Linked DNA regions of Homo sapiens: region 2 is linked to region 1. The links are contacts of gene promoters, found by promoter capture Hi-C in blood cells and fetal thymus (Javierre and others, 2016). All regions are on one chromosome and are shown on one strand. Each heading gives the region's core, a stretch centred on a gene start or on the middle of the fragment in contact. The rest is flanking DNA. Distances are from core to core; before and after follow the strand shown. Region 1 holds the start of SUMO3 (small ubiquitin like modifier 3). Region 2 overlaps TSPEAR (thrombospondin type laminin G domain and EAR repeats).

Region 1 (6,048 bases), core at 3,416-5,915:
TCCGGTGATCCACCCACCTCCGCCTCCCAAAGTGCTGGGATTACACTGCACCCAGCCTGAATATTTTCTTCTGACCTATCTTTCAGTTCATTAATCATCTCTTTCACTGTGTCTAATCTGTTTCAAACCCATCCATTGAATTTATAACTTCAGCTATTGTTTTTTTAATTTCCATTAAATTGTTTTTTATATACCCCACTTCTCTGCTGAACATTTCCATCTCATAATCTATTTTCTTGAACATATTAATCACATTACCTTAAAGTGTATGATAATGTCAATATCCTGTTGACATGATAATCCCATGGAATTATTCCTACTTTATTTATATATATATTTTTTGGTTTTGGATCATTTGTCTCCTGGTTTTCTTTGTAAACTTTAAATCTGGATATTGTATATGGAAATATTTTAGTTAATTTGAGGCCCTGGATGATGCTATTTACCTCTGCATATTTCCTTTTGCTTTGGGCTGGCTGTGGGAAAGAGAGCAGATCAACTTAGTCTGGGAGTCAGCCCTTTGGAAGCTTGGTTTCAGACTTTGAGAGGGACGATCTACTCACCCCTCAGCCTTCCTCCCCTATTGCAGCCCTCAGTGCTCTCAGCTGAAGGTCTGGGTCACTCATCAGAGTCTCCCTATCTTGTGGGCTGTCACCAATTATTGTCTCCCCAACCCTAGGAGATGCAAAAGCTCTGCTCAGTGTGTCAACTTCTTTCCACTGCATATGTGAGACTGAATTGTGTCCCCCCAGCATTCACATGTTGAAGCCCTGACCTCCAATGTGATTTCATTTGGAGACAGAACCTTTAAAGAGGTGATTAAGGTTAACTGAGGTGATAAGGGTGGGGCCCTAATCCCAGAGGACTGGTGTCTTTGCAAAAGGAGGAAGATACACCAGAGATCTCTCCCTCTCTGCAGACACAGCAGAAAGGCCATTGTGAGAACACGCCAAGTTGGCTGCATACAAGTTGGGAGGAGAGGCTTGACCGGACACCAACCCTGATGGCTCACTGATTTTGGGCTTCCAGTCTCTAGAACTGTCTGGAGGCTGGGAAATAACTATCAATGGTTTAAGCTGCCCAGTCTGTATTATTTATTTATTTTTTTTTGAGACAGAGTTTCACTCTTGTTGCCCAGGCTGCAGTGCAATGGTGCTATCTTGGCTCACCACAACCTCCGCCTCCCAGGTTCAAGCGATTCTCCTGCCTCAGCCTCCCGAGTAGCTGGGATTACAGGCATGCGCCACCATGCCCGGCTGATTTTGTATTTTTAGTAGAGATGGGGTTCCTCCATGTTGTTCAGGCTGGTCTCAAACTCCTGACCTCAGGTGATCTGCCTGGCTCAGCCTCTCAAAGTGCTGGGATTACCGGCGTGAGCCACCGCGTCCGGCCCCCGGTCTGTATGTTTTTATGGAAGTCTAGGCTAACACAGGATACTAATCACCAAGTGCCTCAAAGGAAAAAAACTCTTCCCTTTTCTTTTTGAGGTGGGGGAAGGTCTTTGCCCCTCACAGAAAGACTTCTTTTGGTAGCTGATAGCCTTAAACAGATTTAAAGAATATTTTATACTGATTTTTGGGCTATTTTTGTTGGGTTTGTCTGAGGCAACCAGTCCTCCCTAACTGTAAGTAGAAACGTCTCTGAACGCCTCAGGGATTTCTCCTCACATGCCAAGCATCTGTGTCAGTCTTCTCACTCAGCCATTGGATACTCAGGGGCCCTTTCCATTTATGGAGTCAAATATTTCTTTAGTTCAGAGAAATTTCTTATTTTTACTTTTTCTTTGAGATAGGGTCTTGCCCTGTTGCCCAGGCTGGAGTGCAGTGGTGCGACCTTGGCTCACTGCAGCTTCTGCCTCCTGAGTTCAAGCTGATTCTCCAGCCTCAGGCTTCCAAGGAGCCAGAATTACAGGCACACACAACCACACTCAGCTAATTCTTGTATTTTTAGTAGAGATGGGGTTTCACCATGTTGCTCAGGCTGGTCTCAAACTCCTGACCTCAGGTGATCCGCCTGCCTCAGCCTCCCAAAGTGCTGGGATTACAAGCGTGAGCCACCGTGCCTGGCCTCAGAGATATTTTCTCCAATTCTGTCTTTGATTTTGTCCTGGTTTCCTTTTTTCCACCTTCTCCTGCAGCTCCTGTCAGGTGGACGTAGCCCTTCCTGTACTGATGCCCGGTGTCTCGGCCTTCCAACCTTCCCTCTCTCTTTTCTTTTTTTTTGAAATGGAGTCTCACCCTGTTGCCCAGGCTGGAGTGCAGCGGCACGATCTTAGCTCACTGCAACCTCTGCCTCCTGGGTTTAAGCGATTCTCCTGCCTCAGCCTCCCAAGCAGCTGGGATTACAGGCATGCGCCACCAGGCCCGGCTAATTTTTTTGTGGAGACGGGGTTTCACCATGTTGACCAGGCTGGTCTCGAACTCCTGACCTTGTAATCCACCAGCCTCAGCATCCCAAAGTGCTGGGATTACAGGCATGAGCCACCCAGCCCAGCCCTGACCTTTCCTCTCTTAACTTCTCCATCATGGGAGAGTCCTGTGACTTTGTCTCGCAGTTCTTTGCGTCCTCAGCCAGGACCCCTCTCCTAGTCACATGTGGGTCGAGCTTTCATGTCAGCAATGCTGTTACTCATTTGCCAGTTCCCTGCCTTCTCATGAGTCTTCTTGTTGGGACCATCGCCAGGTGTGGCGACCCTCCGGAGGGGCTCTGGCCATTTGGGTTCTTTACCCTGTGCTCGTGGTAGGCCACGGTTTTTCCTGAGCTCTGGTTCCTCCGTCCATTCGATCCCCTTTGGCTGTGTCCTTCAGAAACCTCTTGGCGTTCGGTCCACCAGCGGTGTCCTTTGTGTCCCCACAGCTGCGACAGAGCCTTTTTGCATCTTTGCTGTCACATGAAGGATTCGGGGCAGGTCACAGTGTGGGAGACAGACACAGCATGAATTGAATTCAGACCACCATTGTCTTATAGCCTGGCTTTTTAAAACCTAATGTCATCTGAGCCTCTTTTTCCCTTATCCATGACTGTAGTCACGCATCACTTCGTGACACAGCAACTGGCGTAATTTCGAGCGGTAACACATTTGGGTTCTGTGTCTCATGATTTCTAAGCTGCGTGTTTCTCACTTCCACAACACTGAAGCGGGCTGCCGTCATCCACAGCCTGCCGGAGTTTAGTGTGTCTGTGCTACCTACGGTCGTGTTGTTTTATGATTAACGGTGTCTTGGAGTCGATAACTCTCTGAACCCTGCCTGCCCTAGGGCACTTCCAGGGCCAGCAATCTGTGGGCTCTGAGGCGCCACGTCCCCTCGGAAGGGGCTGGTTGCGGAGCCCCCTCCCAGGACCGTCTGAGCTGGCCACCCACCTCCACATCCTCTGCTGAGGCCCTGGGCTCCAGGTTCCAGAAGGAAGGGACCACACCTTATGACCTGCCTGGGACTGGGGCTGACTCTCAGACCCTCTCCCCGAAAGACTTCAGCAGCCTTCCCCCTCCTAAGTGGGGGCTCTAGCCAAGAAAGTGAATTTTTGAGTAGAAGACGGTTTGTGAAGTTATGGTCCATGAAGACTTGTCTCCATGGCTTTGCGACGTTGCTCAGTTGGCTGAGCCTTTCCCAGGCAGGACAGAAACGGCTCAGACGCTTAGGTTCAAATCCAGGCCCTGCCATTTCCCAGCTGAGCCTGAAGTGCGGCCTCCCCCGCCTTCGGCCGGGCTCACCATCAGATGAGACCTCCGCCACGCCCCGGCTGGCACCACCCGGGCACTCCTGAGGGACGCAGGGGTGTCCGCCCTCAGGTCCGTTCCATCCGAGGCCCTGGGATCACAGACATGGAGGCCGGGGCGGGCCAGGCACCCCAGGAATGGCGCCCGCAAGTCCGGGGAGGCCGTCCTGCCGGCCCAGCGCGTTTCCCGCGTCCACGAGGTCCCCGTTCCGCCGGCACTGGCGGCGTCCAGCCTGGGTTTGCCCGCGCTCGCCGACGTGGCGGCCTGGCCAAGCTCGGCGCCGCTCACCAGCGCTGACCTGGGGGTGGTTTGACCTCCCAGTGCCTCAGTTTCTTCACAGGTAAAACGGGTCTTCTTGAGGACGGGTGTGGAGGGCCCGGGGCAGCCCCGTAGGAGCGTTGGCCAAAGGAGCCCGGCCTGGGGCTGACAGGAAACCGCGGCGGCAGGGAGGCGGGTGGCGCCCCCAATCGTCTAGGGTGCTGGCCCGATTCGCGCGGCCCCCGCGGACGGGACCCCGCGGGCCGCCTTCTCCGCTCTGTCCGCGGCTCCTGAGAGGGAACGTCACCCCCAGCGTCCTCCCTCCTCCGCCCCAGGTCCCTGCGGCCATGGGCGGCGGCCCCGGCCTCACTTCCCGGCGCCCCAGGAACGCGGCCCCCAGGAAAGGAGTCGGGGCCCGGGCGACGCGGGGAGGCGGGCAAGGGTCCCCAGGGCCCGGGCTCCCCGTAAACGCTCCTGGCCCGCGCCCCACAGCGCCCTAGGGCTTCCGCGCCCGACGGGGTCGCGCGGGACCCGCCCCGTGACGCATCTCCAACCGCCCAGAGCCGCGGCCCGGCCTGCGCGCGCCCGACGCCCCGGGGAGCGCGCCTCGTGAACGCGCGCAGCCACGTGACCCCCGTGCCGGCCAACGGGTGCGCCGGGATTTGGGGGATAAAGCGCGGCCCCGCGCACAGTTGCGGCGGGAGAGCGGCGGGGCCGAGAGCGTGACTCGCCCGCTCCGCGCTGCTTCCCCCGCGCCGCCTCCCCGCGCCGCTCGCGCAGCCATGTCCGAGGAGAAGCCCAAGGTAAGCGCGGCGACCCCGCCTGCACGCGCGTCTATCGCGGGCGTCCCGCCCCCAGCCCGGCTCCGCCCCCACCCCGACTCCGCCCCGCGTCCCGCCCCTGACAGGCTCCGCCCCTCCCCGCCCTCTAGAGCCCCGCCCCTAAGTGGGCCCGCCCAAGGTGCGCCCCCTCTGCCCCCGCGAAGCGCGCTGTGCCGCGAGCTCCGCCCCCTCCGGGCCTGGCCACGCCTCCGCTCCACGCCCGTCTCCTCCCCAGCTGGGAAGGCGCGCGCCCAGCGCCTCCTTGAGCGCCCGGTGTCGGGCCCCGCGCTGCTGCTCCTGCAGAGCGCGGCGCCCTCGGATCCCGCCCCAGCAGTGTCCCCGAAGCGTCTTTGCGTGCTCCTCTCCTGAGTCATTGCTGGTTGGGGTCGCCCTCTCCCCCGGCATCGCCCTGGGTGCGGGATCCTGTGTCGAGTGCACGGAGTCGGCTCGGGAACAAGCGTCTGGGGTTACCCCCAAGGGGCGCGCTCTGAGGGGCCTGGCCCCTGTGAGCAGCACTGCCGTCCTTCCAGGGCGCCCATCGCGACCCCGGTATTCACCCACTTCTCCGCATCGTGTCCCGGCCATCGCGTCCCCCAGTGTGCGCCCACCCCTCTCCTTCGTGTCTCCCCAATCGTGCCCTCAGTGTGCACCTACTCCCACCCATCGCGCCCCGTGTGCACCCACCGCCTCCATCGCGTCCCCCGGTGTGCGCCCACCCCTCCCCATCGCGCCCCCCGGTGTACGCCCACGCCTCCCCATCACGCCCCCCATGGTGTGTACCCACTCCTCCCCATCATGCCACCTGGTGTGCGCCCACCCGTCCCCATCATCGCGTCCCTGGTGTGCGCCCACCCCTCCCTATTGCGTCGCCCTCTCCATCACACCCCCAGTGTGTGCTCACCCCTCCCCGTCGCGTCCCCCAGTGTGCGCCCACCCCTATCCATCGCGTCCCCCTTTCCATCACACCCCCAGTGTGCGTCCACCCCTCCCCATCACCCCCTCCACGATGTGCGCCCACCCCTCCCCATCACGCCCCCTATAGTGTGTGCCCACCCCTCCCTATCACGCCCCACGGTGTGCGCCCACTTCTCTGCATTGCGCCTCCCCCACCATGCGCGCCCACCCCTCCTTATCCAGCCTTGGGTGGGCTTTAGTCTCCCCCATTGCCATGCTGGGGTGTGCCTCCCTCCAGTCTCAGTCCTGGGGTATGCACCCTGCATTCAGGTGCACTGGCCATTCCTTCTCGGGAGG
Region 2 (6,393 bases), core at 1-2,500, 320 kb after region 1:
AGCACATCTGAGCATGGCCGTTTGATGGGCTGTGGGCCATCCGGGCCAGGGCTGAGGTCTCCTTTGGCATCTGTGAGTGCGTGGTGCGGTCCACTATGTTTACTGTTGATGTCATGATTTATAGTGAGACATCTCCTCGCGTTATTAGACCCGATGCCACTTGGTGATGATGCAGAATTATTGAATAAGCCACTGGCTTCCAATTGCCTGTCTTTAAGCTTTTAGCATCTATAATAGGAAATTAGATTGCTCGGTGGTTTTCTTTTGGGGACTTAACTTTATCCAGTTTAAAATGAAGCCTAACAGTAAATACACACTGCAGGGCTTTCTAACTGCACCTGTGGACTGGGATAGTCTGAAGAATAGGATTTTTTCTCTCATTTCTGACAGCTGGGTTAAATTCAGTTATAAAGCCATCTGGGCCTGGGTACCTTTTTAATAATATCTCCTTCTTATTTATTTTTTGGGGGGGACAGGGTCTCACTCTGTAGCCCAGGCTGAAGTGCAGTGGCATAACCTCAGCTCATTGCAGGCTGAAATTCCCAGGCTCAAGCAATCCTCCCACCTCAGCCTCCCTAGTCGCTGGGACCACAGGCATGGGCCAACCATGCCTGGCTAATTTTATTTTTTCTTTTTGGAGATGGAGTCTCGCTTTGTCGCCCAAGCTGGAGTGCAGTGGCCCAGTCTCGGCACACTGCAAGCTCCGCCTCCTGGGTTCACGCCATTCTCTTGCTTCAGCCTCCTGAGTAGCTGGGACTACAGGCACCTGCCACCACACCTGGCTAATTGTTTTGTATTTTTTAGTAGAGATGGGGTTTCACTGTGTTAGCCAGGATGGTCTCGATCTCCTGACCTTGTGATCTGCCCGCCTCGGCCTCCCAAAGTGCTGGGATTACAGGCATGAGCCACTGCGCCTAGCCCATGCCTGGCTAATTTTTGTATTTTTAATAGAGATGGGGTTTCACTATGTTGGCCAGGCTGTTCTCGAACTCCTGACCTCAAGTGATCTGCCCGCCTCAGCCTCCCAAAGTGCTGAGATTATAGGCGTAAGCCACCCCGCCCGGCCATAAATGCTATATTTGAAGGCAATGAGAAAAGGATGGGTTTTACTTGATAACTCCATATGATTCGGGAGATTAGCTTCATGTAATCTGGAAGAAAACAAAGCTTACCCCCACTTCACATTGTACACAAAAATAAATGTTATATGGATTAAAAGTCCAAATGTGAAAAAGAAGAAAAGCTGAAGGCAGTTGTATAACCTCAGGGTTCTATGAAGAAGACAAGCCCAGAAGGAAAGGCACTGGGTCGACCACCTGTGTTAAAAGCTTTCTATGGAAACAGACATCCTATTCAAAAGCAAAAGACAAACTCTTTACCACACACACGACAGAAAACCAACCCTTACAAACTAATAAAAAATGTGTCTTTAAATTTGGAAAAATGGACAAAAGATATAAATATGAATTTTTAGAAGAAAAGATGAACAGTGTGAATAAACATTATAAGGGATTTGTCCTCAAAGCAAAACCCTGCCAGGTTCTCCCCCATTTGTTTGGAAGTGTGTTAAAGATGGGCAGTGGAGTGGGTTGGGGGATCCCAGGGGGACCCCACCCTGCCCTTTCCCGTGAGAGCAGAAGCCACCACGGTTTTTCCAGAAAGCAGTCTGGAAGAATTTATTTTCATACTTTATTATTTAATATTAAATGTAAACAACTCGTGCCCTTTGATGTCGGCGCCCTGCCTTGGGGACTCCACGCCTCGGAAATGGAAGCTCCTGGGATAAATGAGTCCTTTTGAAGGCAAACCCTGGCGGCCAGCAGCCGCCCAGAGCAAGAATGAGGGCCTGGGGCAGCCCCTGACGTGGGGCCGCAGAGCAGCGGGCAGAGAGCTGGGCTCCTGTATCTGAGGACGGAGGGGTTCCAGCCTGCGTGGTGGCCTGCGTGTGTTTGAGGGGGGCCCTGGGGAAAGTCACGCACCTCACGATTGAGGCCGACCCTCGGAACTGCACGTTTGGGGGTCCCCGGGGTTAGGATCTTGGGTGGATAGGAGGTAGCGCTGGGATCTTGGTGAGATCTGGAATCTTTCCTCTTCTGGGCCTCAGCCTCCTGCTTTGCAAGATGAGAAGGCCCTCATGGCCCAGAATCGATCTCCCCACGCTGTGCCAGTCGGGGGGATGGAAGAGGCTCAGATGTGACCCAGAGCTGCTGGGTCCCTGACAGCGCGGGTGGGAGCCGGGGGAGAGGAGCTGCCCCGCAGAGCCCAGGCTGACCCGGCTGCCGCTGTCTGTTCCGCAGGTGGCAGGGCTACGAGGGCTTCGTGGCGGTGCACAGCCTCCCCACCGTCGGCTGCAGGGACTGGGAGGCCTTCAGCACCACGGCTGGTGCCTACCTCATCTACTCCAGCGCCAAGGAGCCCCTCTCCAGGGTCCTGCGGCTGAGGACACGCTGAGGCCGCGGCTGCCCGGCAGCAACTGGGGTGGCCAGGTGGGGCGGGACCCCAGCACCTCCCCCAACTGACCCTGGACGTCCAGGTGGGCCCAGCCTAGGGCATCCCGGGCCTGGGCATCAGGCAGGGTGCAGGTGGGGCCATCTGCGGCCCTGGTTCGGGCAGGGACATCCATCCACCTCTGAGTCCTTCTGAGCCACAGCCCCAGTGACGGTCTGGTCTTGCAGGCAGAGGCCCAGAGCCCCTGCCAGTGCTCGCCCATCTGAGTGTCAAGCGGGGATTTCGCTGTCAAGGAACCGTTTCTATACATTTTTACCTCAAACAACAGGACCTCGGTTCATGTCCCTGCGGCTGGCCTCTCGCCAGCCACTCCTGCAGTGTGCGTCCGGCCGCCTGAGCAGGTGTGGTGCCGTCCCGCCATTGCCGCCACCTATTTATTGTGTTTTATCTGAACGGAAGTGTATTTATACTGCTCTTTACAAAAGCACCGGTGCTCCTCTCTAGGCAGCGGGTGGGCACAGCCCCTCACCACGGACACGGACAGAGGACCACCTCCCCATACAGAGAGAGGCTTCCCTCCCAGCCTCAGTTTACCCGTAAATGCACTAGCGCGAGGTCAGAAATCACAAGCCTGGGCATGGCCTGGGTCGCACCCCCTCCCCACGGCCCCACCCACAGGGACCTCAACTTCTGGGCCCGGGATTTTTTCCCTATTCAGCAGCATTTTAATCACATGTCCTCCAGCTGACTGGGACTCAGGCTGCGTGCCTCCGTCTGCCTGTGTGCTGGCTGTCCTAGCTCCCTGGTAACAGCATCCTCTGCTGGCTCTCCTGTGGTCATCTTGTCTCTGCAGCTGGGAGAGCTGCTTGTCTGTCCGTCACAGGCAGTGAGGATGAGAGGGGGTGATGGGCGCAAGGCCCCAGGGGTCCTCCCTCTTAACCCATGTAGGTGCCAGAGAAACCACCCCCACTCCATGAGAAGAGGCTCAGACAGCAGGCTCCGGGGCCACGCAGCCCAGACCACACCTGCCACGGTCTTCCAGGAACGGTGCTCCTGCTTCTGCAACACAAATCGGAACAGGAGCGATCCTCAGAGAGTTTACAATGTGCTTTTTCCGCCAATCAGAACTGTGGACAAAACTTCCTATTTCCTACACCGCAGCTGTCTGTTCACCTTCAGCTCAGAGAGCACTCCTGACCTTTCGTAATGAAATGGAAGCCTCCCCTTGTCTGGCAAATAATAAACTCAGTGTCTACTTTTGCCGGCTTTGGGACCTTCGTGTTTTTCCGGGGCTCAGGTCTCACTCCAGCCATCGCTGTGGCCAGTGGAGAGCCACTCCCCTCTGGGGGCAGTCGCCGAGAGCCTCCTTCCCCTCCGTCCAGCCAGCAAGGCTTTCCCAAGCGTCCTGGGCAGGAGGGTTGGGCCCTGCTTTCCACCAAGTCACTCAGAAGGTCCCAATCACACATGATTGGCCTCATTGGGTCAGCACCTGTGAAAGGAAGATTAAAAACTCGACACCCCAATTCACTCAACCAAGAAGAAAAAAGCTGAAAGCTGAGTCCTGCAGGAAGCTGCCTTTCCCTTTGCCCTAAGCAGACAGCTGCAGATGAGAGGGTCAGCATCTCCACTAGTGGCTGCTCTGTGTGCCCCTTATCTCATGGAAAGTGCCAATTTACTGAGCACGAGATAAACAGGTAACTGACTGTTCCCACCTGCTCCTTTTCTCCTGCAGCATGGAGCAATCAGTCATGTGACCACACCCTCCTCCCTCTGCCCCCTCCAGCCGGCTTTTCCCCTTGACTGAAGCCTTCAACATCATCTTGGGAGAGAGGCACAGACCTGTCTCCTGGGTGCATCCTTAGCCTTGGCAAAATAAACTTCTCCATTGATCGAGGCCTGGGTCGGGTACTTTTTTGGTTTGCAGACTCACCCACATGCTTTTCCAGTTGGGCCTTGCTCTTCTCTTGTTTGAGTAATTTGTTTCTGTTCATGTGAGGCTGACGGTGTCGCAACTGTTCCAACTCCCATCTCTCAGCCAGATCCCTTCATTCCCCAAACTGTTCTAGATCTGGACTTATTTTGGAAATCAGAGCCTGGCTTGAGTGGCTGAAAATCTAAGAACTTCTGGGTAAAGTTACCACTCAGTGTTTGGAGCACAAAACTGAAAGTGTCTGAGCCAGGTCTCAGTCAGCTTAGAGGGTTATGATGCCAAGGTTGAGAATCTGCCCAGGAAAAAGTGGCACCAGTCACAGCAGGACCTGTGGCCAGGCCTTTTCCAGAGAGCATTTTGAGGTGCTGAGTATTTAAAAGAGGAGGAGAGGAGAGGGCAGGGGGAAGGGGGAGAGAGAAGACGGTGGGTGGGCAATGAGGCCAGTGGTCAGGCTCCTGGGAGGCTTTAATTAGCACGCACTGAGTGCACGTTGCAAGTGAAAGGGGGAGGTGGGGGAACAGCCCTTTAGGCACTCACCTGGCACTCAGCAAACCTGCATCTGACGTCAGATAGAGTAGACACAGAAAAGAAGAAAAAGCCAAGCCTGTGTTTTTCTCGAGTGTTTAACCAGAAGTCACGGCTGGAGACACAAAAGCACCTCCTGGCCTATGCAATTTTGTTCCTTTACTGCTTTAAACAAGCAAGATGTGGTTTTATTCCTTTAGTAGCTGGTGGTGTTGGCTCTGTGTCCCTGAACAAAAATAAAAGCAAGCCCTAGTCTTTTGTCCCACACTCGCGAGGATCAGCTGCTCATCGACACTGTCAGAGTGTGGGAGGCCTCCCGGGGAGATACATGGCCGGCCGTCTTGCAAGCTCTCTGTTCAGAAACAGACTGGTTCTCCTGAGAGGCAGGTTTTGCGTGACGCCATTTCCAAGCTTTCCCTTTCCCTTTGGAACAGTGAGTTTGGCATCTCAGGATTCTGTTTGCCTTTCACAGGAGGGAGAAGCTCCAGACGTGGGCTCGCCGCTGTCCTTCCATGCCCCCTCTTGGATGGAATCAGTGGGCCCTGGGGCCCCGCCCACCTCCCCAGTCTTCCCCTGGGGTTGAGAAGAGCACTTTTCTGTCTTGTTAGCCACGATTTCAAGCCAACGTTGCAAAAGCTCTGATTTCCTGGATCGTGGGGAAGCCCGTCTGGGCGCCCCAGCAGCACGTAGTTCAAACACCTCTCCTGGCACCGGGGAGCGGTTCCAGCGTGCCCTTCTGAGAACCTTCTTCAACTGCACTTGCAGTCAGTGTGTTTTCTCTTGTGTAATTGGAATCAGGACCTTTTGAATCCTACCTGCAAATTTATGCAAACAATATGCAAAAACTTGTGACAAAAATTGGCAAAGGAAGACCTTTTGCGGGTGAAGCACAACTGTCACCTAATGGCTCTCAGGGGTGGTTGGGGCGGTGGCGCAGGTGAGAACTGACGTTTGGTCGGGGTCTGTAGCGGTGGTGGGAGGTGTTGGGGTCTTCCTCCTCCCCTGCCCCGCAGTGTGGGAGTAGCCAGTGAAAGTGCAGAGTTGGGGGCTCCCTGTCTCTTCTTCACTGTGGAGGCATCTTCAGAGCTGGGGAGAGGGCGGGATCCCTTAGCCTCCCTTCAGGCTGTTCCTGATGCCACATCTGGTGCTGAGAATGAGTCTGAGAAGCCTCCAGGCCCCCGACCTCCCTATGCCGTCACACCCACATCAAACTATCCTGTGTTAGCATTAACTTCACATTATTGTAATTGTCCCCCTGGGAGGTTAAGCTTTGTGGAGCTTTTCTGTGATCCCTCTCTATCATGGAACCATCGAAACTCTACATCTTAACATCGGAAGGTTCTTTCACGATCATCTGGTCCAATCCCTTTGCTTTCCGCAGAAGGGGACCAACACACAAAGAAGCAGCTGACCCTGGTTCAGCCCTAAACCGGAGCCCTAAATCAGTCACCACCTCTCCAGCTGACACTACTCACTGGATGGAAGGCCTC

The links. The method cuts DNA at HindIII sites, captures the fragments that hold promoters and counts their contacts. A CHiCAGO score of 5 or more calls a contact.
Region 2: a contact is called between a fragment that was not itself captured here and the fragment with the promoter of SUMO3 in region 1, in 5 of 17 cell types (total CD8 T cells, naive CD4 T cells, naive CD8 T cells and 2 more). The highest score is 8.0, in total CD8 T cells.

Annotation. Positions count from the first base shown.
Region 1 is chr21:44,816,679-44,822,726 of GRCh38, reverse strand. It overlaps SUMO3 (small ubiquitin like modifier 3), which reads left to right and starts at 4,665. Exons shown (of 4, transcript NM_006936.3): 1 at 4,665-4,779. The coding sequence starts at 4,759. RefSeq lists silencers at 4,054-4,153, 4,174-4,753, 4,934-5,133. The HindIII fragment of the contact is 14,551 bases long and covers 530-6,048 here.
Region 2 is chr21:44,495,841-44,502,233 of GRCh38, reverse strand. TSPEAR (thrombospondin type laminin G domain and EAR repeats) reads left to right here. Exons shown (of 12, transcript NM_144991.3): 12 at 2,298-4,341. The coding sequence ends at 2,451. Among named protein-coding and RNA genes, the nearest start is that of TSPEAR-AS1, 7.0 kb to the left of the region's middle. The HindIII fragment of the contact is 161 bases long and covers 1,170-1,330 here.